Regions from separate parts of the Homo sapiens genome. Here region 1 is linked to region 2. Evidence: promoter capture Hi-C in 16 types of primary human blood cells and fetal thymus (Javierre and others, 2016). All regions are on one chromosome and are shown on one strand. The core of a region is centred on a gene start or on the middle of the fragment in contact, and the rest is flanking DNA. Distances in the headings are between cores, read along the strand shown.

What was found. The method cuts DNA at HindIII sites, captures the fragments that hold promoters and counts their contacts. A CHiCAGO score of 5 or more calls a contact.
Region 1: a fragment that was not itself captured here is called in contact with the fragment with the promoter of C15orf62 in region 2 in 1 of 17 cell types (naive B cells); the score reaches 7.4 in naive B cells.

Annotation. Positions count from the first base shown.
Region 1 is chr15:40,497,280-40,500,656 of GRCh38, forward strand. No RefSeq gene overlaps it. Among named protein-coding and RNA genes, the nearest start is that of CHST14, 28 kb to the left of the region's middle. The HindIII fragment of the contact is 5,436 bases long and covers 1-3,377 here.
Region 2 is chr15:40,768,710-40,771,982 of GRCh38, forward strand. It overlaps C15orf62 (chromosome 15 open reading frame 62), which reads left to right and starts at 1,271. Exons shown (of 1, transcript NM_001130448.3): 1 at 1,271-3,273. The coding sequence starts at 1,787. The coding sequence ends at 2,314. The region is part of intron 10 of DNAJC17 (DnaJ heat shock protein family (Hsp40) member C17); the gene reads right to left. RefSeq lists enhancers at 1-550, 1,169-1,787, 1,741-1,830, 1,788-2,404. The HindIII fragment of the contact is 5,370 bases long and covers 1-2,784 here.

The sequences.
Region 1 (3,377 bases), core at 338-2,837, 270 kb before region 2:
GGACTATGAGCCATGTTACCTCCCAATTCTGGACATTTTCTAAGCTGTAACATCATGTTTTCGTAATCTGACAACCTGCAGCTCAGTTAATGACATAAAACAATTCCATGATCTCTAAGACAAGCCCCCAGCACATTGAAGTCACTGGATGAGACCTCAGCACCATGGGCCCCTCCTCTCCACTGGGCTGACTCTGCCAACTCACTCTCACCTGAAACTGCCCTTGCTGCTCCTGCCTCTGCCATGTCTACCACTCTGTATAGCTGCCCTTTTCTTACTGCTGTGGCCTCTGGCTGCCAAAAAGAGACAGGGCCACTACCCTGGCCCTCATGACATTCAACTGCAGCTGCCATCTCTGCTAATGTGAGAGGAGGGATGGTTTCTCCACTGACATCAAGCCCAGCTCTCTTGAGTCTGGGCCAGACCTTGAATAGTCTGGCTTGTGAACGAGACACCAGCTAGTTCTTCCAGATGGTGTTCATGTGGCCCAGCGCTCTCCTACCTTAGGACGAGTTCCTGCCCACCCAGCTTGCTTCTCTCAGAAGTTTGGGGCAGCATTTTTCTACCTTTCTTATTTAGGATCCCAACCTTTTTTTTGAGACGGAGTCTCGCTCTGTCACCCAGGCTGGAGTGCAGTGGTGTGATCTCGGCTCACTGGAACTTCCACATCCCAGGTTGAAGTGATTCTCCTGCCTCAGCCTCACAAGTAGCTGGGACTTCAGGGGTGTGCTACCACACCTGGCTAATTTTTGTATTTCCAGTAGAGACGGGGTTTCACCATGTTGGCCAGGCTGGTCTCGAACTCCTGACCTCAGGTGATCCACCCGCCTTGGCCTCCCAAAATGCTGGGATTACAGGCGTGAGCCACTGCGCCTGGCCCCCAGAGCCCAACCTTGAATCCCAGCATCCTCTCTGCCATTTCCCAAGACACCCAGTGGGCCTCTGGATAAAAGACGTTTTTGATAGAGAGTTCTGTTATCCCAGACCCCGAGGTGACCCTAGCATAATCCCTGGACACTCCCCTATGCTGAGGCTTCTCCCCTAGACCCCCATTCTATTACATAGTCTGTGCCCCCTCAGCTCAGTCATTACTTTTCTGGGCAGCCTCCTTTGACCTGCAGACCAGATCAGATCTCTGTGGTTTGCTCCCTGATCACTGTGTCCTTCTCCTCTGTAGCTCTTACCACAGCTTGTAATTCTATATTTGATGCATGTCTATATCCCCCTCTATAAGGTGAGGTCATCAAAGGCAGCAGTTCTGTCTTTCTTGCCTACCACTGCATCTCCAGCATGCTGCTCATCTGGTCCGTGGTAGGGTTCAGTATTTGTTGAAGGAGTGAATGAACTATGATTCACTTCATTACGTGTCGGTCTTTTAAAAACATTTATCTTCAATACACCCGTTTCTCTGTGATGGCAAGTAAAACATTTTTGGAGGCAGTCACTAACCAGCATGCATTGCATGTGTGAGCACCACAATATTTTTATACTTGTGGGTTCGATAATCCAACCACATGCTTTATTAAAGTATTTCTTTCAGGGTTGTAAAAAACACTTCATTACTGGCTTGCGGGCAACCTGGCTCTGGGGGAAAAGGGTCGTGTTACCACACTGCAGATAGGTGAGGATACCAGTGCCAGGCAGGGAGGAGGCTGTGAGGATGCCCAGCCCCTGCTTAGGGATACTGCTTCCCCCCCTTCACTTTTGCAGATTGCAGAGGGCTTGAAGAAGGGATGCAGGCAGTTTGAGCACTGAGTGGCACGTATTCCTGCAATCCCCAAAGTCATGAGGGGGCTCTTTGGAGGGGGTCTCAGAATTGGACTGTATGGTTTGATTTCACGTATTTCTGGGTTTGCTTTGTAGTTTGTCAAGTCATCATACTGTATGCTACTGGCAGATGATAATATGTTAACCAAAAACGACAACAAAGCAGTTGTGATGCGAAGGATGAGGCTAGACTTGGAGTCAGAACCATCATCCAGTACATTGGTTCTTGGCACATAGTGAGAAAGAACCCTTGTGGAATGGAAGGAGAAGCTCCTGGGAAGCAGCGTGTGAAGGTGGAAAGGGTCTTGTTGCCAAGGCAATAACCATTCACTTCCATGGAGCACTGGCCAGGGGCAGGTGCTGTGCTGAGCACTTTGCATGCATGATCCCATTTAACCCCACAGTAATCTATGAGGTTTTTTTTTTTCTTTCTCTTTTTTCTTTTTTAGAGACAGGGTCTTTGTCACCCAAGCTGGAATGCAGTGGTGTGATGATAGCTCATGTGGTCTCAAACTCCTGGGCTCAAATCATCCTCCCACCTCAGCCTCCCGAGTAACTGGGACTACACGTGTATGTCATCATGTCCAGCTAAGTTTTTTGTTTTTTGGGGTTTTTTTCTGAGACAGAGTCTTACTCTGTCACCCAGGCTGGAGTGAAGTGGTGTGATCTCGGCTCACTGCAACCTCTACCTTCTGGGTTCAAGCAATTCTCCTGTCTCAGCCTCACAAAAAGCTGGAATTACAGGCGTGCACCATCACACCTGGCTAATTTTTAAATTTTTAGTAGAGACGGGGTTTCACCATGTTGGCCAGGCTGGTCTCCAACTCCTGACCTCAGGTGATCCGCCCATCTCAGCCTCCCAAAGTGCTGGGATTACAGGCGTGAGCCACCGCGCCCAGCCTTTTTTTAAAAATTATTGTAGAGACAGGTCTTGCTATGTTGCCCAGGCCGGTCTCAAACTCCTGGGCACAAGTGATTCTCCTGCTTCAGCCTTCTGAGTCCCTGGGATTACAGATGAGAACCACTCACCTGGCCAATTAGGGTTCTTATCAACATTTTCCATAATGAAACCATGTGTCAGAGTGAAAAAATGTGCCTGAGGTAACACAGCTAATAAATGTCAGAGCCAGGATTTGAAGCTAGTTCTGTTGGACTTGACATCAATCCACGTAACCTTGGGATACACTGGTTATCAGCTAAGTTGCATTCAAGCCCTTGCTCTTCCATTATGGCTGTGTGTCTTTACCTTATTTCTGTGAAAACATTATGTGCAAAATGTGAATAATAATACCTATGGCAAAATATTTCTGCAAAGATTAAATGAAACTGTGGATGAATACTTTAGAACTATACTGTCTGATACAGCAGCCATTAGCCACATGTAGCTATTGAACTTGGAATATGGCTAGTCTGAATTGAGATGTTTTATAAGTGTAAAAAATACACTGGATTTTGAATACTTAGTGGGAAAAAATGTAAAATTTCTCAGTTTTTCTGTATTGAATACATGTTGAAACGATAATATTTTGGATATACTGGGTTAAATAAAATACATTACTAAAATTAATTTCACCTGTTCCTTTTTACTTTTTAAATGTGATTACTAGAAA
Region 2 (3,273 bases), core at 21-2,520:
GCTGTAGGGTGGAGAAGCAGCTCTACAGCGGGACCTAAGCTGCCAACCCACGCCCTGATAAGGTCTGCGGTGGGAATTAAACCTTTTCCTCCCTCGGTGCCGCTTAGGCTGTGTGATGATCATGTGGTCCCAACAGCTTCTCAGAGAAGTGTGAAGCACACCTGAGTTGGCACAGAAGTGAGCTAGGCCAGGGATTGCAAGATGCGGTGGCCTGCCCGTAGCAGAGAGCTGTGGGGCCCTGATCCGCGGTACCCCGCATGGGGACGCTGTCACAGAGCAAGGCAGGAGGAAAATGTGGTGGTCAGTGACCCGGGGAATAGGAAGGGAGCAGCTAGGGTTGAGATGCCAGGCCCTGGCCAGCAGGTTTGGAGTAAGGGGTGTAGAGAAACAGGAAGTGTTACTCAGCCTGGGTTCCCCTGTTCCTCCCGATGGCTGCACCCCTCCCCTCTCCCCGGCTGCAGCAGTCCCAGCTAGGCCGGACTGCTAAGCCTGGCCCAGAGCACGGCTGACAATTCACGGCAGCCTCCCTGGCCCAGCCTCCTGCAAGAGAAGGAGGACCCCAGAGGAAGCCCGGTAGCCAGAGGGGAAGGGCTGGAGCACAGCCAGGTAGGAGGCAACACGGCCCGGCCTTCAGCAGCCGCTCTCCTGGCAGGAGCCCTCTAGGGTAAAACAAGGGAGGACAAGGAAATAGCAGCCAGGCTGATGGCAGGCCAAGAGGAGGCCACATCTCCCATCCCCAGGTTAATGCTGCTCTGCCAAGAAAACTTGGAGCCACCCTTGGCGGGCCCCCAGCCCAACCCTGGGCAGCAGAGCCCGCCCATCACAGGCATGGCGCTGCTCCCCATTAACACACCCTCTGCCCCCCTTCCTGTTCCTGCTCGTGAGGGCCTGACAGCGGGGCTGAGTCACCCATACCAGCTACAGGTCTCTTCCTTCCCCAACAATCGTTCCACACGCCTGCCTTTCAATTAACTCCCACCCGCCCCGAACTCTTCCTACCCAGACACTGTGGGCAGGGAGCCAGGCGCACCTGCTGGGGGCCCAGGGTGGTGGGGCTGTGATCAGAAAGGAAGCCGCGTGGTGACACATAAAGCAGGGCTGCCCCCACACGAGTCCCCAGAGGAATCTTAAGCTCCCCATTGCCCTGGGGTGTTGGTCCCAGCTGCCCCATCCCTGCACGCGGATGCTGCAATTACCCAAGAGCACGAAACCTGGCTTCCCACCTGACTGAGTCAGCTGAGAACAAAAACACATCTCCACCGCCACAAACAGCCAGGCCACTCATCAGAGTCCGGGAGCCACTGGCAGAGAGGGCACGGCCCCACACTGCCCCAGAGACATATAGGAGCCAGGCAAACACCAGGGCGAGTGAGCTCGGGCCATCTGCTGCCTGCCTGTGGAAGGAGCGCTCGCCAGCCTCACCCAGCCCGAGAAGGTCCACCTCTGCCTCCGCCGGAGCTGCCCTCATTCTGGCTCCAGTAAGTGCTGCTTCTTCCTCCTGGGTTTTTTTCCACTACCCTATTCAGTAACCAGGCCACTCCTGTCCCTGTGGGAAACTCTTGCTGCCAGGAACTCCCAGCTGTCTGCTCTCCTGGGCAAAAAAGTTCCTTCTTCCTGAGCCCTCCTCTCACCATCCAAGATGTGGTCAAAGGTCTGTGCTGAGTGGAAACCCTGAGGCCTCTGCTCCTAGGGGAGCCTCCCCAGCTGCTGGCACTCACTGCCCCAGCAGGGACCACATGCACCCTGGCTGCTCCTGAACACCTGTCTGCTGGCTCCCCTGGGCCCCATGGAGACCTGGCGGAAAGGCTCCTTCCGCAACGCCTCCTTCTTCAAGCAGCTGAGCCTGGGGCGGCCACGGCGGCTCCGGCGACAGAGTAGTGTGCTTAGCCAGGCCAGCACAGCAGGTGGGGACCACGAGGAGTACAGCAACCGAGAAGTCATCCGGGAGCTACAAGGGAGGCCAGATGGCCGGCGCCTGCCACTGTGGGGGGACGAGCAGCCCCGGGCCACCCTGCTGGCCCCACCCAAGCCCCCACGCCTCTACCGAGAGAGCTCAAGCTGCCCCAACATCCTGGAGCCCCCACCTGCCTACACAGCAGCCTACTCTGCCACCCTGCCATCGGCGCTCTCTCTGTCGAGTGCCCTCCACCAGCACTCAGAGAAGGGCCTTGTGGACACTCCCTGCTTCCAGAGGACACCTACCCCAGACCTCAGTGATCCCTTCCTCTCCTTCAAAGTGGACCTGGGGATTTCACTTCTTGAGGAAGTTCTGCAGATGCTAAGGGAGCAGTTTCCTAGCGAGCCCAGCTTCTAAATGGGGTGAGGGTGGGCAAAGCCGGGGTGACTGGAAGATCCAGAGGCTGGGGATTAAGGAAAGGACAGGGACAGGACTCCAGGCCCATCGCTGGAGGGTTCAGGCAGGCAGAGCTTCTTCATCCTGGGGGAGGATTCCAGGATAGGAATCCAGGGCTCTGCCTGCTCTCTGGGTCCTGGACAGTCCTTCCAGGCACCCCAGAGTGGAGGGACAGAGGCAATCTGGAAATGTTGGGGGGGCGGCCCTTCCTGGCAGGACCCTGAAGAAAGCTGGCTATGCCGGGAAAGGGAGGCTGTGCCGGGAAAGGGAGGCTCTGTGCGGCACTACAGGAACCAGGTAGAGGCTGGCAGAGCCAGAAGGTGGCACGGGGTCAGATCAGGGAGTGGGAGGACACAGACTGAGCAGAAGAGATGAGTGCCCCATGCCAGCCTCTTTGGAAGCCACTGTCAACAGAGAGAGGTCACAGGACAAGCTTGGGTAAAGGCAGTCCAACCCAGGCAGAAGAGGAAAGTGGGAAGGCCCAGGAAGAAAGGGGAGAAGGCCTGACCCTGTCTAATCTGGTGGCCACTCACTGCATGACACTGAATTGAAATAAATAAAATTAACAGTTCAGTTCCTCAGCTGCACCGTTATTCCAGATTCCACATTCCAAATGCCCGGTGGCCACACATGATTAATGGCTACCACACTGGTCAGTGCAGAATGGACGTAAACATCGCTGCACAAAGTTCTAATGGACAGCGCTGTCTAGACCATGGCCTGGAGCCACCAGCAAAGGGGAGGCGCATACAGGGGCTGGCCACATAGGAAGAGATAGGTAGAGATAGAGTATAACTCAGGAAAAAGACCAGGCAAATCCTTAGCAGAAATGAGGACGTGGCTCAGTCTGCCAACACAGCTACCCGGAGCAATCCCTGGTGAAGGAAGGCAGCTCTAGAGAATGCCAGCCACAGGCACGC